Regions from separate parts of the Homo sapiens genome. Here all the other regions are linked to region 2. Evidence: promoter capture Hi-C in 16 types of primary human blood cells and fetal thymus (Javierre and others, 2016). All regions are on one chromosome and are shown on one strand. The core of a region is centred on a gene start or on the middle of the fragment in contact, and the rest is flanking DNA. Distances in the headings are between cores, read along the strand shown.

What was found. Contacts are between HindIII fragments. The CHiCAGO score rates a contact against its expected background, and 5 or more counts as called.
Region 1: the fragment with the promoter of STX4 here is called in contact with the fragment with the promoter of ZNF267 in region 2 in 16 of 17 cell types (naive CD8 T cells, activated CD4 T cells, non-activated CD4 T cells and 13 more); the score reaches 25.2 in naive CD8 T cells.
Region 3: the fragment with the promoter of BCKDK here is called in contact with the fragment with the promoter of ZNF267 in region 2 in 3 of 17 cell types (non-activated CD4 T cells, fetal thymus and monocytes); the score reaches 8.2 in non-activated CD4 T cells.
Region 4: a contact is called between the fragment with the promoter of PRSS8 here and the fragment with the promoter of ZNF267 in region 2, in 16 of 17 cell types (naive CD8 T cells, non-activated CD4 T cells, total CD4 T cells and 13 more). The highest score is 32.5, in naive CD8 T cells.
Region 5: a contact is called between the fragment with the promoter of PRSS53 here and the fragment with the promoter of ZNF267 in region 2, in 7 of 17 cell types (non-activated CD4 T cells, activated CD4 T cells, fetal thymus and 4 more). The highest score is 12.3, in non-activated CD4 T cells.
Region 6: a fragment that was not itself captured here is called in contact with the fragment with the promoter of ZNF267 in region 2 in 1 of 17 cell types (fetal thymus); the score reaches 5.2 in fetal thymus.
Region 7: a contact is called between the fragment with the promoter of FUS here and the fragment with the promoter of ZNF267 in region 2, in 17 of 17 cell types (non-activated CD4 T cells, total CD4 T cells, activated CD4 T cells and 14 more). The highest score is 39.2, in non-activated CD4 T cells.

The regions. Positions count from the first base shown.
Region 1 is chr16:31,031,565-31,034,815 of GRCh38, forward strand. STX4 (syntaxin 4) reads left to right here and starts at 1,994. Exons shown (of 11, transcript NM_004604.5): 1 at 1,994-2,271; 2 at 2,449-2,550; 3 at 2,662-2,761; 4 at 2,898-2,972. The coding sequence starts at 2,242. RefSeq lists enhancers at 1,318-1,829, 2,342-2,852. The HindIII fragment of the contact is 4,602 bases long and covers 565-3,251 here.
Region 2 is chr16:31,872,295-31,875,196 of GRCh38, forward strand. ZNF267 (zinc finger protein 267) reads left to right here and starts at 1,513. Exons shown (of 4, transcript NM_003414.6): 1 at 1,513-1,675. The coding sequence starts at 1,673. RefSeq lists an enhancer at 1,334-1,628 and silencers at 1,515-1,564, 1,715-1,794. The HindIII fragment of the contact is 12,710 bases long and covers 1-2,902 here.
Region 3 is chr16:31,106,952-31,110,012 of GRCh38, forward strand. It overlaps BCKDK (branched chain keto acid dehydrogenase kinase), which reads left to right and starts at 1,435. Exons shown (of 12, transcript NM_005881.4): 1 at 1,435-1,528; 2 at 2,096-2,467; 3 at 2,560-2,628; 4 at 2,722-2,832. The coding sequence starts at 2,273. RefSeq lists enhancers at 1,159-2,052, 2,053-2,945 and a silencer at 1,288-1,827. The HindIII fragment of the contact is 13,040 bases long and covers 1-3,061 here.
Region 4 is chr16:31,133,872-31,137,078 of GRCh38, forward strand. It overlaps PRSS8 (serine protease 8), which reads right to left and starts at 1,856. Exons shown (of 6, transcript NM_002773.5): 1 at 1,543-1,856; 2 at 1,283-1,300. The coding sequence starts at 1,627. RefSeq lists an enhancer at 1-917. The HindIII fragment of the contact is 17,481 bases long and covers 1-3,207 here.
Region 5 is chr16:31,087,327-31,090,499 of GRCh38, forward strand. It overlaps PRSS53 (serine protease 53), which reads right to left and starts at 1,617. Exons shown (of 11, transcript NM_001039503.3): 1 at 1,426-1,617; 2 at 480-500; 3 at 211-373. The coding sequence starts at 1,483. RefSeq lists an enhancer at 1,294-1,794. The HindIII fragment of the contact is 23,145 bases long and covers 1-3,173 here.
Region 6 is chr16:31,070,146-31,073,372 of GRCh38, forward strand. The region is part of intron 1 of ZNF668 (zinc finger protein 668); the gene reads right to left. It also overlaps a transcript of ZNF646 not described here. Among named protein-coding and RNA genes, the nearest start is that of ZNF668, 2.5 kb to the right of the region's middle. RefSeq lists enhancers at 2,971-3,227, 3,063-3,227. The HindIII fragment of the contact is 265 bases long and covers 1,661-1,925 here.
Region 7 is chr16:31,178,707-31,181,642 of GRCh38, forward strand. It overlaps FUS (FUS RNA binding protein), which reads left to right and starts at 1,433. Exons shown (of 15, transcript NM_004960.4): 1 at 1,433-1,521. The coding sequence starts at 1,509. RefSeq lists enhancers at 319-378, 670-1,430, 889-958, 1,431-2,192, 2,193-2,936 and 4 more and silencers at 1,119-1,188, 1,829-1,978, 2,099-2,148. The HindIII fragment of the contact is 6,651 bases long and covers 1,409-2,936 here.

The DNA of each region.
Region 1 (3,251 bases), core at 744-3,243, 840 kb before region 2:
AGAGTCTTACTCTGTCACCTAGGCTGGAGTGCAATGGCGTGATCTCAGCTCACTGTAACCTCCACCTCCCATGTTCAAGCAATCCTCCTGTCTCAGCCTCCCAAGTAGCTGGGATTACAGGCACCTGCCATCATGCCTGGCTAATTTTTGTATGTTTGTAGAGACAGGGTTTCGCCATGTTGGCCAGGCTGGTCTCCAACTCCTGGCCTCAGGTGATCTGCCTGCCTCAGCCTCCCAAAGTGCTGGGATTACAGGCATGAGCCACCACACCCTGCCTGAGCTGGGTTTTAACAGGAAGAGGAGAAGAGCCAAAACTCCTCACATAGAATCACACAGCACTTGACAGTTTCCAACCTCATCATCACTGAAGTTTAGAGCAGCCGATACCCATAAAGATGATCTCCCCATCCCCCTACAGTTACCCACTGTGCAGAGGGAGATCCACACTTAGAGACAGGAAGCGATTTCCAGAAGTCCATAGCAACTCAGTCCCAGGAATCTAGGTTTCCTGACCAGGGCATAGCAGAAAGGGTCCATTCCTTTCCTTGCTTGTACCTTCACAGAAGCTTCCTGGACAGAGCCCTGGGGTCCAGGAGACCTGTTATTCATTCCCGGCTATGCTGAGACTTGCTGAGTGACCTTGGGGACTCCTTCTAGAGAATATAAGTTCCACGAGTGCAGGAATTTTTGTCTATTAGTCCTTGATGTATCTCCAGCCCTAGAACAGTGTTTGGCCCATACTATGTGCCCAAAAAATATCCATTAAATGACTGAATGTTGCTGTGCATGGTGGTGCATGCCTGTAATCCCAGCACTTTGGGAAGCTGAGGCAGAAGGATTGCTTAAGCCCAGGAGTTAGAGACCAGCTTGGACAACATAGTGAGACCGCATCTCGTAAAAATTTTTAAAAATAAAAAATGAGTGAATATCTAGATAGCCAGGATTAGAGAAGTGTCACAGTCAGAAAGCCTGAAGCCTAAAGAAGACCAAGGAACCAGGGGCTTTATCCTCAGATACATGAAAGCCTGAAATTCTGTCCACAAGTATTTATAGAGGGCCCGTAATGTTCTTGGTACTGGGCTAGGAACTCCCCAGATTCAGTTAAGAACAAAGTCATTACCTGGCCTCAGATGCAAGGCAGGGGCTGGGGGGTGTGAGTGGCAGGGAGGCAGCGTGATCAATACAAACACTTTTCTTAGCCTGAGCTGCCCTGACATGGTCTGACGGCTCACAAGGTGGTGAGTGCAGCCGGGCTGCAGTGTTCAAGGAGGGCGCCGGCTGGCCGCCCACCTGTCAGAGGCTGCGCCAGAAGGATGCGGAAGAAGAGATTTCTGCCTTGGCTGAGGTCACTTCCCACCCCCAGATTCCCTGCCCACACAACCCTGCAATTTTCTGACGCTGACGACTCGGATCCTATTATTTCCCGATTTTCAAGGTCCCATGATGCTGACAGCCCCAAATGCTAAGTCGTCAGTCCGCCCACGCCCTGGACCCGAAAGCAATAAAGGCGAGGTCAGCAAGGGTCCTACCACCCACTGCCTCGAAAGGCCTCTGGGGGTGGTCGGCGCGCCCCTCCCCACCTCGCGGGGGCCGTGTGGGCGTCGCTCGGTCGTTGGGGTGCCGGGGACGTCGTGATGAGAACGGCGTCCCAGAGACGGCGGTGACAGAGCCGGGACACGTGACAGTCACAGGGTCACATTCTGCGGTCCACGAGTTTGGGACCGGGCTGGTCACGTGACGCGGTGGGGGCACCATGGGGTGATGTGAGATGCGGGTGTCTCGGATTACGTACAAATGACGTATTCCTACCCCTTTTGGCAACCAGATTTCCGTTGGAAGATGCAACGGTTCCGGTGACGGTAGCAAGTTCTCGCGTCCAGGCATCTCCGCTTCCGCTCGGGGCGCAACAACTTCCGACTCCACCTTCCCAGCCTCGGGCAAGGAAGAGACGCGACCATGTGCGCATGCCCCGAATTTATCACGGAGGGGCGGGGCTGAGGCTGCGGGAGCTGGAGCGGGGAAGAAAAGGGAATTCCAACCTGTGGAACCTTGGGGGGTCCCCGGGGTCGGCGCCTTCCCATTGACTGTGGGCGGTGCAAGGGACGGAGCCTCTGGCGGCTCGTGGGGGTGTTGGGGTCCGCAGGGGGAGGGAGGGGAGTGTCAGAGTGTGAGCGGGGTACGGGAATTCCAAATTTGAGGGCCTCCCGGCTCTGGCGCCGGGGAGGGAGAGCTCAGGCCGCCATGCGGGACAGGACCCACGAGCTGAGACAGGTGAGACGCCAGGGCAGCGGGGATGGGGACGGGCGGACGAACTGGAACGCAGGACTTCTGGTCTTCGGGATAGGGAGGGGTGGCTGATGGCCAGGAAGGAAAGTCCCGGAAGCCTGTGGGTCCTGCGGGGTAAGAGCCGCAGCGAAACGGTGGTGCCAATGACTCCGGGCCTGGCAGGGGGATGACAGCTCGGACGAAGAGGACAAGGAGCGGGTCGCGCTGGTGGTGCACCCGGGCACGGCACGGCTGGGGAGCCCGGACGAGGAGTTCTTCCACAAGGTAAGGGGCTGGGGTCTCCGCCTGGATTCGCGAGGGTGTAGGAGGACCCGAGGAGTAGCGTGGTCTGGAGTACCCCATATCTCTTTCAGCCCTCTCGGTCACCCTCCCCAGGTCCGGACAATTCGGCAGACTATTGTCAAACTGGGGAATAAAGTCCAGGAGTTGGAGAAACAGCAGGTCACCATCCTGGCCACGCCCCTTCCCGAGGAGAGTGAGTGAAACCCCGGCTGCAGGGCGCATGCTCCGCCCCAGGGATTGTGGGGGTTGTAGTTCCACGCAGGTGGTGGCCAGAGTGGTTTGTTGAGGTGGGGGCTGCTGTTTGGGAGTCTTGGCCTTCTCTTATTCAGGCATGAAGCAGGAGCTGCAGAACCTGCGCGATGAGATCAAACAGCTGGGGAGGGAGATCCGCCTGCAGCTGAAGGGTGAGCTCCTGGGACCTCAGACAGATCCTTCCCTCTGATCCTGCCCTGTTGTTGGTATATCTGGGGAGTGTGTGGCCCAGAGAAGCCAGTGATATATCCAGGTCACACAGCAGGCCTGGGTCTAGCATCTGTCTCCTGGCCTCCAGGCCATTGTACTCTCCACAGCACAAGTCCGCCTCTCAGGTTCTTTTATTTACAATGAAACCATTTACTTACACAGTTATCGCTGCCCACTGGGCATTCTTTGGGCAGGGAGATGGAGTTTTGTTAGGTGGCCTC
Region 2 (2,902 bases), core at 263-2,762:
GTGGTGTCAGCAGCCCTGTCCCACACCCGTTGTCTACACCTAATCTGGTGGCAGGGAGGCCACAGAGTGCAGCGACTAGAACTGGGTGAGAGGGTGAGAGGCAGCCATGCCCCAGGCCAAGACAAGTGCATGGAATCCTGACTGTCAGCAATCAGGGATGTTTCTGCTTTGGGGAGGGAAGCATTTGTTCCACACGTCTCACTGAATAAGGCACAGAGCCTGATCTGTCCCAAGTGGGAGTTTAACCAAGCTAGATGGCGGCCGAGGGCCCTGGCCCAGTTTGACACCCACCTCCTCTCCCACCTTCTACTCAGCCAGAAGACTAGGAGAATCTACTCAGCCGGAAGACTACGAGGTGCTGCAGCGCCACTAGCTCCAAGACTCCAGAAAAACAGGAATAGGGCATTCTGGCAGGTCAAAGCAGACAGAATACTTGAGCTCAGGAGTTGGCGAACTGACTATTAACCTGTAGCCCCAGTTACTTGGGAGGCTAAGGTGGGAGGATCGCTTGAGCTCAGGAGATGGAGACCAGCCTGGGCAACATGGTGAAACCTCATCTCTACAAAAAATACAAAAATCAGCCGGGCATGGTGGCATGTGCCTGTAGTCCCAGCTACTCAGGAGGCTGAGGTGGGAAGATTGCTTGAGCCCCGGAGGCTGCAGTGAGCCATGACTGCACCACTGCACCAGCCTGGGCAATAGAGTGAGACCCTGTCTCAAAACAAAAGCAAAAACCAGAGGTAGGGCTGAGGAGTCCGTGGCCACAGAGCCTGAGCCAGCACGGCCCAGAGGAACTGAGCTCCCAGCCCTGTCGCTGCCAAGGACCCTTCTTCCCTGAGCTTGAAGGGATTGAGAAGGAGAGACAGACGGACAGTCAGCGGCCCCGTTACCAGTGATGCAGACTCCAGGAGATGCGGGCAGAGTTGTAGATTAGAAGAATAGGCCAGCCCCTCTTCCACGTTCCACCACGGCCCGCAACATCCTCCTGGGACCCCAGCCTGCATGCCCCTATAAGATGCTTTTGCACTGGTTCAGTCTATGTATCATGCGAGGGCCTAATTGAAAACACGTGAATGAAGTGTACGGCCTTCTGTTCCCAGCTGAGGGGCCCCCTCCCACGGTGGCGTTAGCAGTGGGGTACAGTGCGGTAAGAGAGGTGCTAAGGGACGGGATGAGGGTCTTTCTTGCTTTAAAGGTGTCTAAATATACTTCTTCTTAAACTTAATTAGCTAATAAGATGTCTTATACAAGCAGAACCAGGTAAGGGAAAGAGCAAGTGTATTTCAAGTCGCAGCTCACCCCTTAATTAGCTGTAATACCCGCAGCAGGCGGCCCCACCTCAATGAGCCAGTCTCCCTTTCAAAAAAAAAAAAAAAAAAGGCACTAATAATGAGGGGGCGGGGCATGGAGCTTTATCCAATCAGGGGCGCTGGAGTGGAAACCGTCCAATCAGGAGTGAAGCCGGAGAGCAGGGGCGGCTTCCGGGATTTGGCGGGGGCCTTCGTCGGCTCCAGTTAGAGCTCGGGTCTCCTCGCCACAGCTCCGAGTCTTTCGTTCTGGGAGGCCCAGGCGGCTTCGCGTTCTGAGAATAAACAGAACCTCTGTTGCTCTGCGACTTGCAGGCACTGGGAGATTCGTAGCTAAGACGCCAGGGCATCCCGGAAGCTGGGAAATGGTGAGTGTGCGGGGTCGGGGGTCCCCAGAGGGAGGGAGGGCGGTGGTCGGAAGCGGCGGGAACCCGCTGTAGGGGCACCCGGGCCTCCCCGCAGTCAGCCTCGGGGTCTGGGCCCCGAGTCCCAACTGGTGCAGCTCGGCCCTCGGTCCCCTCCGCTGCAAGATGGCGGCCAGGCCGGCAGCCGGGACCCCGCGTGTCCTGTCCCATCCCGACCCCGCAGAGCGACCTCGTCCCTGGCCGGAGCCCTCTCTGGGCAGCTCCGCGTCGCAGCCCCGCGTCTCCCCCAGATTGTGCGGTGAGGACGGGAGCGTCTCAGGGGAGACCCAGGTTCGGTGTGTGGGAAGAAACCGTGCCCTGTGGGGTCCTCAGTCACTACTCCTCTTAAGAATTAAAGGGAGTCACTGTTAAAACGTTGAAGAATTTGAGCAAATAGCGATTTGTGACATGGGAAGCCTGCAGTCCTGGTTTGTGGTTCGGAGATCCCCAGAGGGGCTTGAAGGAAAGGTTTTTATAAGGTGCATGAGGAAGCAGACCAAATTAACCGATGGGTTACAGTTTGTAGTTGCCTTATTTAGACTATGCAGGTGGAGGTGAATTGGAGCTTTGTGGTTCGTTAAGTCTGAATTTTGTTTTCCCCTAAAGTTGTAATTTACAAGAAAAGCATTTGAGTTTGGTTTTGGTTTTTCTCCCTAGAAACCTGGGGCACTATAACCACTTCCGTATAATCGCCTGCTCATTAATCATCTTAACACTGCCCAGGGGAACTGGTTTTCCCCCTGCGCTTTCCTAACGTGTAGCACGCAGAGTCTCAAGTCCACCACTGTGTTCCCCCAGTCTAACTGGGCTTGCAATAAAATATTAAATTTCCAGTTCCTTCCCGACATTTCCAAAGGCCAACTTCCCCTCTCCAGTTCACATTCTTAACTATTGGTCATTTATTGTACATTTCAGACAGTATTTTACTCATTAATCATGATTTCACAGAGCAGTGGATGACACTTTTTTAAAGATTTGTGTTTTTTTGGCATACATTTCACGTGAGAGGAAAGCAGAGAATAAAAAATCCCTGACACTCCACTGCAAAAAAAACTGTGCCTCTTTTTCATTCATCTTCCCCAGGCACAGACACGTTATCGGAAAGAATGTCTTTTGACTTGAGGTTTTGCTTTGGAAACTTTACAGGGCCCTGTATAGCCACCCTCTATCCAGTCTTTTCCTGTTCCTGAA
Region 3 (3,061 bases), core at 185-2,684, 770 kb before region 2:
TAAATAAAGATAGCCTCCAAAGATGTCACTTGCTTCACTTAGCACTTTTTATTGAACATATTTAGGAAATATATAACCATGGTAAAGAAAATTGCAATTAGTACAAATACACACTACACACATATGCACGTGCACACACTGAAACGTGTCCCTTCCAGCGCCTCCTGCCTGGATAATTTTTTTTTTTTTTGCAACGGAGTTTTGCTCTTGTTGCCCAGGATGGAGAGCAGTGGCGGGATATCGGCTCACTGCAACCTCCTCCTCCCGGGTTCGAGCGATTCTCCTGCCTCAGCCTCGCGAGTAGCTGGGATTACAGGCGCCAGCCACAACACCCGGCTGATTTTTGTATTTTTAGTAGAGACGGGGTTTTGCCAAGTTGGCCAGGCTGGTCTGGAACTCCTGAGATCCGCCCACCTCGTCCTCTCAAAGTGCTGGGATTACAGGCCTGAGCCACTGCGCCTGGCCTAAAGTAATTGTCTTCTTATTGGTTTCTCTGCCTTTGGTCTCACCAAACGCCCCACTCTAAATCACTGCAGACAAGGGGTTCTGTCTAAGGAGGAGAGCCCACCAGTTAAAACCCTTCAGTAGTTCCTAACTACCCTAGGACAAATGCAGACTTATCCTTCGCTCTCTGCTGCCGCCCCTCTCCTTCCCAGATCCCATATGGCTCCAGCCATATCCTCAGACCATCTGGGCTGTTGTCTGTCCTGCCACACACCCTTCCCACCCCGCTCCCTTGCAAGTCCTACTCAGGCTGCACCTACACAGCTGTCTCAGTTTCTATCTGAGGCTCCCGCAGCCTCCTCTGAAAGTCCTCATCACAGCCAATGATACTGAAACTGTTTTCTTATGCAGGGCACGGAAAGATCTATTCAACTCACTGCCCAATCTCCTCTCCTGGTGCAGAAAAGACACCCAGTCAGCGACTTGCATTATCTGCAGGCATGAGTGAATAATAATAATGCCTAACCCTTATATAGTGCTAATTCCACGCCTGGCACTGTTCTAGGCACTCATATAAATTCATGTAATCCACACAACCCCAAAACTGATGATATCTCTTCATCTTACCAAGCACTGAGCAGTTAAATAACTTGCTCCAGATATTAAGGGGTCGAGCTGGGGTTTGAAGCCTGGTTACCCATAAATGAACCAAGAACTGGAAGGAGGACAAGAGCTCCGAGAAGGAGTCAGGTAGGGCGTGATCTGTGCGCTTTACATCTAAGATCTTCCAGCTCCCAGGGAGCCCGTTTCATAGAGCAGGAGATAGAGGCTGGGAGGGACACGGAGAGCCTCGAGAGCCGTGTGGAGGAAGCGGTGCTGTTTGGGGTCCGGGAGCAAGGGCGTGGCCTGGATGCGCGGGCGCCCGGGACGGCACGTCCTCAGACCAAACTACAACTCCCAGGACCCAGCGGGCGCTGCCGCCCACGCGACGTCACGGCGGCGGAGGGCGCAGGCGGCTGGGCGCCTGGCGAGTGGACTGTTCGAGCCCTTCCGCTGGGACCCGGGCCCTGGCTCCGGCCCCGCGGTAAGTGGGGCGACCCCAGCCTACTCAGTCCGCGGAGGCCCCGCGGCGCACGTCCGCAGCCTCCATCACAGCGCGGGCGCGCAGACGGGGCTGGCATCTACCATATGGGGGGCATCCGGGCCGAACCAAGTGACCCGCGTGGGGGGTCCCGCTGGGGACTCCGTGCCGCACCCTCCCAAGCCGGCCCCAGGGGCCCAGGGCTGGTGTCGCACGTTCGCTGGCCGCGCTCCCAGGGCCCGGGTTTGAAGGCGCTGGGCAGGCAGGGGCAGCCCCGCCCCCTGAGAAGGGTACCCGGGACCCCGGGGCGCTGGGGCGAGGTTTTCGGGCTGGAAGGGTCTGAGGGGCTCCTCCCCCGACAGCCCTCCCACCGCCAGTAGAGCCTCGGGTTGGGGAATAGAAGCCCCCGGGAGGCTAGGTCCTTTGGGCGCGGCCTGTGTGCATCTGGGGAGACGGTGGGAGTGGTGGGGAGAGGTCGCCCGGGTCTGGGGAGACCGATGCACAGGTGGAGAGATGGTGCGGGTTCTGTGGATTCGGATCCTTACAACTTCCTCTTCCCCGCCCCGGTAGATGGGAGCTGCTCTCCGCGGGCTGAGCCTGTCAGCATCCTCGACGCACCCTGGTCCCTGAAGTCGGAGAAGAGCCCCTACCCACCCACACCCCCTTGCCCCATTTTGGGTCGCCTGGGTCCTCAGTCCTAGCGGATCCTCAGTCCTAGCGGCCACCGGGTCTGAAAGGAGCAAGACGATGATCCTGGCGTCGGTGCTGAGGAGCGGTCCCGGGGGCGGGCTTCCGCTCCGGCCCCTCCTGGGACCCGCACTCGCGCTCCGGGCCCGCTCGACGTCGGCCACCGACACACACCACGTGGAGATGGCTCGGGAGCGCTCCAAGACCGTCACCTCCTTTTACAACCAGTCGGCCATCGACGCGGCAGCGGAGAAGGTGCGCAAGGGGGCAGCCAGCCCAGGGTCCGGGATGTAGGCGGGAGGGAGAGTGTTGGGGGTTCTCTGCTCAAGGCCTCTCTCCCTCTCTAGCCCTCAGTCCGCCTAACGCCCACCATGATGCTCTACGCTGGCCGCTCTCAGGACGGCAGCCACCTTCTGGTAAGATTCACGCCCTCTATTTTCCTCGTGGATCCTGGAGCTCTCCCAGACACTCAGGCTCCAGCCCCGCCTTCCCTTCTCATTTTCTCCCAGAAAAGTGCTCGGTACCTGCAGCAAGAACTTCCAGTGAGGATTGCTCACCGCATCAAGGGCTTCCGCTGCCTTCCTTTCATCATTGGCTGCAACCCCACCATACTGCACGTGGTAAGGTAGAGAGGACCTTAGGTCAGCGGGCCACCCTGCCCCGGGGGCAAGTGGGGAGTCTGGGGCCCAGAGTGGCAGACGATTGCTTGCCTAAAGGTGTCAGGGCCACACAGGATTCAACCCCAGGCCTTCAGAAGCCAAAGGTGTGTATTCACGGAGCCTGGAAGGGTCGAAGTGGGGGTTTGATCACGTGGTCGACCAGCTGGGTGGTGATCCCCATGGGTAGGTG
Region 4 (3,207 bases), core at 606-3,105, 740 kb before region 2:
ATGCTTGATTGGAACAGCAGCCCCTCCGTAGACAGGCGGGCTTCTGCTGGCTGAGTTGGGCATTGCCTCCGAGCCCAGCACCCCCCAACCTCCACCATGCTCCCCGATGCTGCCCAGTCTCACAATTGTTCCGGAGTCCACAACTGTGTCTGTTTCCACCACACCAATCTGGGCATTCCCTAGGGGCAGATTCTCATGTCTGCAGTGCCTGTGGCGTCGTGGACATATATTCAACAAACCAACAGCAGAACTGGGCTCCTGTGATGTGAATGTCTAGTTTCCAGGACAGCCCCAGCCCCACCCCCATTGAGGCCACTTTGGAGTGGAGCCCAACTGCTCTTCACAAAGTCATCTAGGAGCAGAGAAAATTGCAGACCAGATCTTTCTCTCCCTTATCATCATGACAATAGCCACTATTTAGAGAGCCTAGCGGCTGTGCCAGGCCCTGGAGGGGCTTTCGCTTCCTCATCTCCCTGCATCCTCTCCACAGCCCCAGGAGACGGACATGACCAGCTTCATTTTAGAGGTGAGGAGTCTAAGGCTTAGAGAAGTGGGGGGACTTGGCCAATGACACACAGCCAGTGCATGGGGAAGCCAGGATTGAAAGCCGGTCTGACTCAGAGCTGGGTTGGGTGCCTTCCAAGAAAGGAGACCCTTGGTTTGGTTCCCTCAAAACCACCTCCAGGATGGGAACGGTGGCTCACACCTGTAATCCCAGCACTTTGAGAGGCCAAGGCAGGAGGATCGCTTGAGCCCAGGAGTTCAAGACCTGCCCGGCCAACATAGTGAGACCCACATCTCTACCAAACAAAAACAAAAACAAAAACAAAACACAACTAGCTGGGTGTGATGGCATGCACCTGTAGTCCCAGCCACTAGGGAGGCTGAGGTGGGGAGGTGGGAGGATCACGTGAGCCCGGGAGGCTGGATCACTGAGACTGCAGTGAGCTGCGATCGGGCCACTGCACTCCAGCCTGGGTGACGACAGACCCAGACCCTGTTTCAAAAGACAAAAACCAAACCAAAAAAACCACCTCGATTGCCCCACTTTGGGAGTCAGACGTGGATCTGAATCCCAGCTGCACCTTCACTGGCAGTGTGCCCTGGGCAAGTCCCTGCTTCTCTGCCCATAAGGTGAGGGCTAAAACCCCCCACTCTGGGAGCCCTAAGAGAATCTAGTTGGAAGGCAGCCCAGCTGAAGGCCAGGCACTGGTTAAACCCCAGGGGAATCCGATCCAAGTCACCTCCCCCTCCCCTCCTCCCTCTCCGAGGAAAGTCTCACCTTCTGCCCCTTCCGCTCCTAGAAAGAAAGAGAAAGAGGAGGGGTGAGTAGGGAAGACTCGGGTTCCCTGACCCCTTAGTACCCACCACTGCTCCAGAGGGCTGGCCCCTTCCCTGACAGAGCCAAGGTGGGAAAGAGAGGCCAAGAGCTAGGGAGGCCGGGGGTTTTCTTGGGCCCCAGACAAGGGCACACCCCAGAAAATGATCACGCCGGCTCCCTCCAGTGCATTGTCCCCACCCTGCCCCCACGTCCTCACTTACCTGTCCCCGACCGGAGTAATCCAAGATAGAGCAGAATGGCCACAGCCCCCAGCTGCCCAGGCCCCAGGACCCCCTTCTGGGCCATGGCCCAGGACAAGGGCCCCTGGGGCAGACTCCAGGCACGCAAGGTAGGAAGCCTTGGGGTGGTGTCGAAGGCAGGACCCAGATGTTGGCTCAGAGGGAAGGATCCCAGAATCCGGGCTGGAAAGGGGCAGCAAGTGTCCAAGGCTGGCCTCTAAGGCAGGGAGCGGCCGCAACGGGAGACGCCTGGAGTATCCGAAGCGAGCAGTGTGGACGAGTCACCAGCACCGTCTGGCCACGCAGGGTCCTCCCAGGAGTGGCTGCACCTACCTGCCCGCCCCTCCCCTGGCCCCGCCCACTGGCTGGGCTCCGCCAGCTCCTCTTGCCACCAAAGTCATGAGTCCTTTCAGAGCTGCAGGCCCGTGTGTGTGCATGTATGTGTCCGTGTGTATGTGTGTGCACATGCATAGGCCTTTTGTGTGTGTGTCCCGGTGTGTAGTGTGTATGTGGTGTGTGTGTATGCCTGTGTAGGCTGTGTGTGTCCTCTTATGTGGTGTGGTATGTGTGTGTGTGTGCATGTACAGGCTGTATGTGCACATGTGTAGGCTGTGTGTGTCCCTGTGTGTGTAGTGTGTGTGTCTGAGTGTGCGTGCATGCACGTGCATGTGGTTTGTGTGTGTGTGCAGTCTCCCTGGAATGTGACGACTCTCCTCCGCCTCAGGTCTTTCAGGTTATCTCAGGCCAGTTATGCCCCCCAGGGCCTGGCCCCAGCTTTTATTATCTGGAGCCACAGCCACTCCTCCCTTCTTCCCTCCCTCCTTAGGCTGGTTATGGGAGCTTAAGACACTATGGTCTGTCCCCTGCCAGGCCCTTTCTGCGATGCCTGCACCTCATGGGTGGTGGCGAGCTTGTGGAGCAGCACCAATCATCCCACAGACATTTCCTAAGTGCCTATGATGTTCCCAGGTGTCCAGGACAAAACAGGCACCAGCCCCGTCCCCCTTGAGCCCTGAGCTCATGGTGAAGTAGGGGTGACACACTTCAATCAAATAATCACAAACAGGCTGGCAAGGTGGCTAGTCGGCTTTGGGAGGCTGAGGCTGGAGCATCACTTGAAGCCAGGAGTTCCAGACCAGCCTGGGGAATATAGCGAGGCCTCATCTCTACAAAGAAATATAAAAATTAGGCAGGCATTGTGGCGCATGCCTATGGTTCCAGCTATTTGGGAGGCTGAGGCAGGAGGATTGCTTGAGCCCAGGAGTTCAACGAAGCATTGAGCTATGATCACGCCACTGCACTCCAGCCTGGGCAACAGAGGGAGACCCTGTCTTAAAAAAAAAAATTGCAATTACACAATAATTTCAAGCTAGGAATAGTGATGAAAAAGAATGGCGTGAGCACACCACAGCCTGGCAAAGGCTGGCATTGTGAAAGGGTCCTCGAGGAATTGCCTTGGAAACTGAGACCGAAAGGGATTATAAAAGGTGGTAAGGCGAAGATGGGGGGATGGGGTGCAGAGGGCAGAGGCTCAGGGAAAGAAGGCTTGCCGTGTGGCTGCGGTGGGAGTGAGGCATGTATCCTCCTTGAGGGCCACTCTGGCCGTTCAAAACACCTGTTGAGGCTGGGTGTGGTGGCTCACGCCTC
Region 5 (3,173 bases), core at 367-2,866, 780 kb before region 2:
CTTGCAACCTGAGTTTTCTGATTTGTAAATCTTCTACCATGAAAGGTGGTTGTTACAATTAACTTGACAATATGTACCCAGTACATGGCAGATTCTCAGTAAATGGTTCTTTATTATTACTCTAGAGGCAGGGACTAGCCTTGTGGGGCTTGAGACAAATTGTCCACTCCCCAGAGCCGGAGACCCTGCCTGACCCCAGCCATGACTTACTTTTCAAAGCAGTGGGCAGCAGTGAGGACCCAGGTGTCTGCCACCAGGGAGCCGCTGCAGATGTGGGCTCCTTGCCTCCTCACACTGGCCTGCCAGGGCCACTCGCCAGGGACTGTGTTGCCCTCCTGAGGCTTGGGGGGGCCGGGGCCACGCTGTCCACAGGCTGTGGAAAGGAGTTAGTCACACTGACAGCAGATACCTGTCCTGACCTCACCCCAGTCCCAACCCAGACCCAAGTAAGACCTAGGCCCCGTGTCCCCAGACCTTACCACGCTGAGCGGCTTGAAGACCTGGGAAGAGAGAGACACAGGTAAGATGCAGGGACTCCAGGCCTGCCTAGCTTTGGGGAGGAGAGGGGATGGGCTGGGGGGCGGGCCCAGGGTCCTTGCCTGTGACTCTGATTACCTTACCAGCCCCTCCCAGAATGAAAATATTTATATGAGGCCGAGACAGCTTTTATTGGAACCTATTCAGTGTGCACACTCAGTAATTAATTCTCCTTCAGCTGTGCTCAGCACTCTGGGGCTTGGGGTTCAGCTTGGGAGTAGGCCAGCCCTCCTCCAGGCTTCAGAACCCCCAACTCCTGCCCCCGCCACTGAGTCAGCCAGGCGGCCTGTGTGTGTAGAGAGCATTAGCTTAATTGTCCTCTTAGCAGCAGAGGCCTAAGAGGAAGGATTAGAGGCCTGCATCATTTCCAAGTGGGGAGGGCCCCAAGAAATGGAGACTTACCTCACCCTGGTCTAGAGACTCAGTCTTCCCCACCTTCCCAGAAACTGTCTGAGAGCCCGCCAGAGAGAGGGCCCCTGCCCACCGCCCCTCACAGGCACACAGGCACCCCATGAGACAGCTGAGCCAGGCTGCCCAGAGGATGGATGAAAAGAAAGGGAAACTGAGGCCAGAGGAGCCCAGAGTTTGCCTGACGTCATTGTGGAAGTCGAGGGGGAGGCAGGCACAGGACACACGCAGGCAGCACCTCACACACACACAAGACCACAGGCCCCGCCAACGCAAACTGCAGCTGGCCCGAGAAAATCTCATCCATGTTGACACAGGTGGCCACATATACCACCCCACAGAGTCCTACGGAGTTACATCCCCACTGGTGGACTGTCGCCCACAGGCGGTCCCCCCACCAAGAAGCAGGGACTGCTGGGGCAGAGATGGCCCCTGAGCCCCCACCAGGCCACACCCATACCCCAGCACATGGCGGCTTACCCTCCATGAGGACTGTGGCACCCGCGATGAGCAGCACTGGGCCCCAGCACCACTTCATGCTGCCCCGGGCCACTCTGCCACCTGTGCTCCACTCTGAGAGAGGCCACCTGGGTCTCCCTGGCTCCACCTCTGCTCCACCTCCAGTTGGCTAGGATTCAGCTGTCTGCTTGCCCTAGCCAGCAGTTCCTAGCTCTGGGGCTGTGGCTGTGTGACCCTAGGCTTGTCACCACCCCTCTCTGGGCCTTAGCCGTGGAGCCAAATTGTCTGGGTTTAAATCTGTTTCCTTACTACTTGAGTGGCCTGGGAGAGCTAACCTGCCTGTGCCTTGTCTGAGAAACAGTTGTTGAATGGAAAACGTCTCAATGACAGCCTGGCACAGGGCAAGCTCACTCCCAGCATGAAAGTGCCATCCTGGAACCATGGAGGGCACGTGGGCAGCTCCTCCCAGTCCCCACTTTTCATTTCCACTCCCCCACTTCTCTTCCAGCCAGGGCTAGGTGGGTTTCACATGCCTTCTCCCAGGTCTGCTCAGAGACAGTGTGTGCCAGGCTGAGTGGTGAGGAGCCAGCACCCACTGCTGCTTGCTCGCTGTGAGCCTTTGGCAAATCCCAGTATCTCCCTGGGCCTGCTGGCTTCCTGGGAAACAGGGTGACAGCGGTGCCCACCTTCCTCATAGGCGCAGAGGACTCGGTCAGGCGGGAAGAACACTTTGGCGCGTGCCTCCTCTTCCTCTTCCCACTCCTAACTCAGGCTGGCCCAGACCATTCAAGAACCCTGACCCCAAGACAGAGGCAGCTGTGGGTAAGGTTTAGCATATATTATAGATGCTGGCCGGGCATGGTGGCTCACGCCTGTAATCCCAGCACTTTGGGAGGCCAAAGCAGGCAGATCACCTGAGGTCGGGAGTGCGAGACCAGCCTGACCAACATAGAGAAACACTGTCTCTACTAAAAATACAAAATTAGCCAGGCCTGGTGGCGCATGCCTGTAATCCCAGCTACTCGGGAGGCTGAGGCAGGAGAATCACTTGAACCTGGGAGGTGGAGGTTGTGGTGAGCCGAAATTGTGCCATTGCACTCCAGCCTGGACAACAAGAGCGAAAGTCCGTCTCAAAAACAAACCAACAAAAAAAAAAGCATATAGATGCTGGAGCCAGATGGACCAGGTGGATTCAAATCCTGAGAGCCTCCTGCAGTAGCTGTGTGATCTCAGGCATACTAATTAGCCACTCTGTCCCTATCATCAAGATAGGGATAATAATAGTACCCACCTCATAAATCACTGTAAAGATTAAACGAGTTTAACACGTTAACACAAGTTTTTTTTTGTTTTTTGTTTTTTTTTGGAGACGGTCTTGCTCTGTTGCTCAGGCTGGAGTGCAGTGATCATGGCTCACTGCAGCCTCAACCTTCTGGGCTCAAGCAGTCTTCCCGCCAGCTTCCCGATTAGTTGGGACTATAGGTACATACACCACCATGCCTGGCTAATTTTTTTTTTTTTTTTTTTTTGTAGAGACAGGGGTCTCACTATTTTGCCCAGGCTGGTCTGGAACTCCTGGCCTCAAGTGATCCTCCTGCCTTGGCCTCCCAAAGTACAGGGATTACAGGTGTGAGCCACTGCACCCTGCCAACACAAGTTCTTAAACAGTGCTTGGCATGTAGGTAAGTGGTCAGGGCATAATAGGCAAAACAAAAACCTTCACAACCTGGCCCTGACCCTCCAAGGCTACCAATACTGGCTTGGAATGG
Region 6 (3,227 bases), core at 543-3,042, 800 kb before region 2:
TTGACCTCGTGATCCGCCCGCCTCGGCCTCCCAGAGTGCTGGGATTACAGGTGTGAGCCACCGCGCCCGGCCCTTTTTTTGAGACGGAGTCTTACTCTGTCCCCCAGGCTGGAGTGCAATGGCACAATATCTGCTCACTGCAACCTCCGCCTCCCGGGTTCAAGCGGTTCTCCTGCCTCAGCTTCCCGAGTAGCTGGAATTATAGGCGCCCGCCACTACATCTGGCTCATTTTTGTATTTTTAGTAGAGAGAGGATTTCACCATGTTGGCCAGGCTGGTCTTGAACTCCTGACCTCAAGTGATCCACCCACCTTGGCTTCCCAAAGTGCTTGGATTACAGGCATGAGCCACCGCACCCAGCCCTCTTTACTTTTTAAAAAATGTTTTTATTTTTATTTATATATTTATTTTTGAGACAGAGTTTCACTCTTGTTGCCAAGGCTGGAGTGCAATGGCACCATCTCTGCTCACTCCAACCTCCGCCTCCCCGGTTCACGAGATTTTCCTGCCTCAGCCTCCCGAGTAGCTGGAATTACAGGCATCCACCACCACGCCTGGTTAATTTTTTGTATTTTTAGTAGAGATGGAGTTTCACCATGTTGGCCAGGCTGGTCTCGAACTCCTGACCTCAGATGATCCACTGCCTCGGCTTCCCAGAGTGCTGGGATTACAGGCATGAGCCACCGTGCCTGGCTTATTTTTATTTATTTTATTATTTATTGTTATTATTATTTGAGACAGAGTCTCCCTCTGTTGCCCAGGCTGGAGTGCAATGGTGTGATGTCAGTTCACTGCGACCTCTGCCTCCTGGGTTCAAGCAATTCTTCTGCCTCAGCCTCCCAAGTATTTGGGATTACAGGTGCCTGCCACCACAGCCAGCTAATTTTTTGTATTTTTAGTAGAGATGGCCATGTTGGCTAGGCTGGTCTGGAACTCCTGACCTCAGGTGATCCACCCACCTTGGCCTCCCAAAGTGCTGGGATTACAGGCTTGAGCCACCATGCCCGGCCTATTTATTTCATTTTTATTTATTTATTTTCTTTGAGAGAAAGTCTTTGTTGCCCAGGCTGGAGTGCAGTGGCTGCATCTCAGCTCACTGCAGCCTCCACCTCCCGGATTCAAGTGATTCTCCAGCCTCAGCCTCCCGAGTAGCTGGGACTACAGGCGAAAGCCATCACACCTGGCAAACTTTTGTATTTTTAGTAGAGACAGGGTTTCACCACATTGGCCACGCTGGTCTCGAACTCCTGACCTCAAGTGATCCGACCGCCTCAGCCTCCCAAAGTGCTGGGATTACAGGCGTGAGCCACCGTGCCTGGCCTTTATTTTTATTTAGAGATTGGGTCTCACTCTGTCACCCTGGAGTGCAGTGGCTCAATCATAGCTCACTTCAGCCTCAAACTCCTGCACTCAAGCAATCCTCCTGAGTAGCTAGGACTATAGGCACCCACCACCACACCTCGCTAATTTATTAAAAATTCTTTGTATATAGAGATGGAGGTCTCACTACGCTGCCGACAGTGGTCTCAAGAACTCCTGGCTTCAGATGCTCCTCCACTATGGCTTCCTAAAGTGCTGTGATTACAGGCATGAGCCACAGTGACCAGCACCCCTCCTCTCTAATTTCCTTTATGGTGTCATCTGGACAATACTCCTTGCAAGCTTACCATGGGCAAGGTATCATTCTAAGCATTTTGTGCATAATACTCAACTACTCAAGCCAACTGCACAGCTGCCTAGCAGTTCATTATGAGTGAATGTTTGTGTTCCCTGTCCATTCATATATTGAAATTCTAACTCTCATTGTGACTGTATTTGGAGACAAGGCCTTTATGGAAGTAATTAAGGCTGAATGACGTCATAAGGGTATGGCCCTGGTCCAGTAGGATTAGCGTTCTTATGAGAAGTGACACCACAAAGAAACAAGCTTACTAGTCACGGTCCCAGCCAGTGTTCAAATCCCAAACACCTGCTCTCTGAGCCCTGACTATTGCTTTGCTAGCATTACACATCTTATGGTTTGGCTGTTAATTCTTCATCACCAGCACCAGAGTCCAGGCTGGCAAAGGGCTAGGAAACCGATCATCTGCCTCCTCTACACCCAGAACCCTGTGTGGTGACCCAAAACAAATGGAAAGAACCAACCTCAGATGAAATTTGAACCCAGGTCTGTAGCCTCTGCCTCCTCCACAGTAGGAGTTTGTGAGAATGTCCACCAATAACTGTTTATTAACTAAATTCCTCCACCTTTCCAACTCCACAAGGCTCAACTATTGCCCCAATATCCCACAGTGGGCTCCCTGTCGTGGCGATGAAGCCTTGCTTTGCCTCACTACTGGCTTAGGAAGGGGATGAAGTTCTGCTGTCTCACTAGGCAAGCAAAGATTCAATTTCCAAAAATCCTAGGCTAGGACCCTGGGGCAGGGATGAGGAGAAAAAGGAGGCACCTCAATCTTCCCATCTCTAAACAAGCAGTCACCACACAGGCCTCACGGCCAGGAGTGACGTAGTGAGCGGATGAACCCTGCAGAAGTGAGCGCTAATCATATCCTAGGCCTCCTACCGGGCCAGTTCACAACCTGATCCCAACCTACTTTTCCAGCCTCAGCTCCAGCGACAGAGTCCTCCTCCCGGCAGCGACCGAACCTCCAGCCACAATTCTCAATCCTCCACCTCTAGATGCAGTTTCCTGGGCTCGGGGAGCCCTTGCCTGCCTTCTCCAACGGGAAAGCCCCTTTACATCCTTCAAGAACCCCCTTCCCTAGTGCCCTCAGGAATACTTTATGGCAGTAGAGAGGTAAGGGCCCCACGCCGCTCTGGACCTCAGTTTCCTCATCAGTAAAATGGGGTCCCTTAAGTTTGTGGGAGTTTGAAGGGCGGTGGGGCCTACGAAGCGCGCCGAGGAGCCGAGAGTTGCAGAAACCCGGAGCTCCTCGCTCCTCGCAACCGTCTGTACGCGGCGCCCCCGCCAGCCAGGCAGCCCCTGGAGGGCAGGACCCCGGTTATAAGCCTCAGAAAACGTGGCTTCGGAGGACGTGGCAAGGAGGACTGAACGAAGGATGAGGAGATGAACAAATGAATGGACGGAAGGCCGAATGAGGGACAAAGGCTTGCAAGATGGCGTTCTCTAGGACCGCGGGAGTGGTGGCCGGGCCTCAGCAGGGGAGGGGGCCGCCGGCGCCTGGGATCTTGCAGCGCGGGCCACGCGACCGGGACAAAAACCCAAA
Region 7 (2,936 bases), core at 183-2,682, 690 kb before region 2:
AGGGTGGACTTCCTTTCTTTTGCTCTCACTGGAGAGTTGAACTCTCCTTCCAAAGGCGGTGGGGTGGATATTGGCATATTCAGGGCCTTTAGGGCTGAAGTCAAGGGCTTAGTGGGGCTTAATTTGTGGGCGGGCCCAGGGCATGGCCCTCATTGTTTCTCTAGAAAGACGTGTCCAACCCTCAAAGGACCTTCTGAAATCCCGCTGAAAGGTTAAGTTGGGAAGGAAAACCTGCATGCCTATGTATCAGGAATTAACGTCTTTTGTCTTGTTTTATTCAGTAGTTTCAAATTGCCTTCTCCAGGCAAGGCTGATGAAAGTGCAAGTTGCAAGTTAATTTGAATGTTTCTTTTTGCTTTTGCTCTCACAGGAAGTGAAAAGGCGACCAAACACTCTAGCATTCATGCCACCAAAAAGAGGAGTGTTTTGCAGTTACAAGACCTGGATTCGAATCACGACTCCTCTTAGCTGCCCTGTAATCAGGCACAATTACTTGGGTCTCTGAGTCTCACTTTCCTTATCTAGAAAACGGAGGTATCTTTACTTCCTTCGTAAGACTGATGACAAGGAAATTATCTGTGCATTTTGAAACCACTTAAGCCTTGTACACGTTTTATTTCTGGGATCGCCCTGGTAGGGCTTCAGAAAAATAAAAAGGAGGTCCCTGAGAAAAGGCTGGGTACCGTACATCTGAGGTCAACCCTCTCTGGTCCCAAGGATGGCCTGGGCTGTTCCGCCCCGTGGCTCCCCAGGGGCAAAGCCATGAGGATCCGGGTGAGAGCCCAGTGCTGGACGAGCCCGGGGCCCAGGGGTCCCGGCCGAAATCCCTGCTGTCTTTCAGGTCAAACGTCATAATCCCCGAACCCCAGAAAGGCCGAAAGGCAAGGCAACCCTGAAAGACGACGAAGTCAACCTCAGGGCGCAGGAGAGGGAGGGCCAGTGTGCTGCCGACGAGGGAGGCTGGAGCCGCGGGGACGAGGCGCCCCATACAGCGGCAAGAGGGTGGAGGGCAGGAGCTCGCCATCCTGGGTGAAAGCGGGGCCCAGCGAAGGGGCCCGGCCACAGGAATCTCGGTTCCACCCCGCTACTCCCGGCTGTGACTCCAGTTTCGTCCCCAGCCGCCGGGACCGCCCCCTCGCCCCGCCCCCAGCGGGCACTCAGGCCGTACCACTGTGCCTTCATGGGGGTGGAGATAGATCGTGGGCTAGTCCTGCCGAGGAGAGAGGGGTTCTTCCTCAAAAAATATGATTATGTATAGTATTCGCATGATTCTAGTTAACTTGTTTCCCTTCTGCCTGCTCGGACCCTCTACCTGCCCTACGAAGGGGGCGGAGTGCGTTCCTGCCTCCCCCTGCTCTTCCGCGTTTGGTGCGCGCCTGCGCGGTGCGTAGGCGGCGGAGCGTACTTAAGCTTCGACGCAGGAGGCGGGGCTGCTCAGTCCTCCAGGCGTCGGTACTCAGCGGTGTTGGAACTTCGTTGCTTGCTTGCCTGTGCGCGCGTGCGCGGACATGGCCTCAAACGGTAGGTAAGGGCGCGAGGCGACGGCGGCGGCGCACCCGGCCGAGGCCTCCCAGCTGGGCTTTTCGTTTTCAGTGGGACCGGGGCGGCGATCCCGTGTGGGATTTTTTGGCGCCCCTGTGGCGGGAAGCCGCGGAGAAGAGTAACTGGAGGAGGCTGGTGTCGCCATTTTGTTTCGCTCCTCTGGCCCTCGCGCGCGGGGCGGGAAGTCTTTTCTTTGCAGTCCGTTTGCTTGGGGTGGGCGTTGGGAGGGACGCTTCTTAGGGGTTTGAAGCGTCAGGTGAGGGTGGAAAACGCCCATTCTCCGTGGCCTCGCCTCCCCCAACTCCCGGCCCCGCGCTCGAGCCCGCTTTGTCGCAGTGCTGCATCCGGGCACTCGCGGCGCGCACGCGCTCTGCGGGCCCCTCCCCCTTCGCGGCGCGGGTACCCCTTCCCCGCCTCGTGTTGGTTCAGCTTTCTGTCGCGAGACCCTTCGCGGAAGACTCGGCGGCGCGCGTCCGGTGTGAGCCTTGTCCCTCAGTGGTCCTTCGCGAATGGGCGGGATCGCTCCGTTCCCGCCTGGGTTGCCACGCGGCTGGGGGCGGAGGCTCGGGATCGGGGCCGCCCTCTAGCTTAACGGTTTGGCGGCGGTGGTCAGGGTTCGACCAACGGACTTGGGGACGGCCCGAGAGTTTTTCCCGCCTAAATTTCTTTCTTTTTTTTTTTGGAGACACGGTCTTCCTCTGTCGCCCAGGCTGGAGTGCAGTGGTGCGATCTCAGATCACTGCAACGTCCACCTCCTGGGTTCAAGTGATTCTTCTGCCTCAGCCTCCTGAGTAGTTGGGATTATAGGCGCCCGCCACCACAGCCCGGCTAATTTTTGTGTTTCTTAGTAGGGGCGGGGTTTCACCATGTTGGTCAGGCTGGTCTCGAACTGCTGACCTCAGGTGATCCGCCCGCCTGGGCCTCCCGAAGTGTCGGGATTACAGACGTAAGCCAACCACGCCTGGTCTAAATTTCTTTTTTCTGAGATAGGGACGGAGAAGAACGGCCGCCCGAGGCCACACCCTCTCCTGGTCCTCTTTCCCTTTTCCTGCGGGGGAAGCGCCGCGTTTCCTGTGCTGGGAGGATGAGTTGATCTTGTTCGTGTATCTTAAGTGGGGCTTTTCAAAAGCGCTTTTGTTGCTTTTTGTTCGCTGGGGGAAGGCAGGGTAGGTGAGAAAACGGAACCATCTGGAGTCCCAGGGCTGGGGACTCGAGTACCTGTTGACTTTCGCCTCCTAAGGCGAGCAGTTGCATGATCTCTGTCATTTGGGGTCCAAGGGCTCTTTTGATTCTCTGGCTTTGCACTAAAAAGCCCACTTCATCTCCGGGATTGGTCAAAGAGTGAAGAATGGCCTTTTTTGAGACTTTCTTATTCTGTGGGTCTGGGCTGAGAG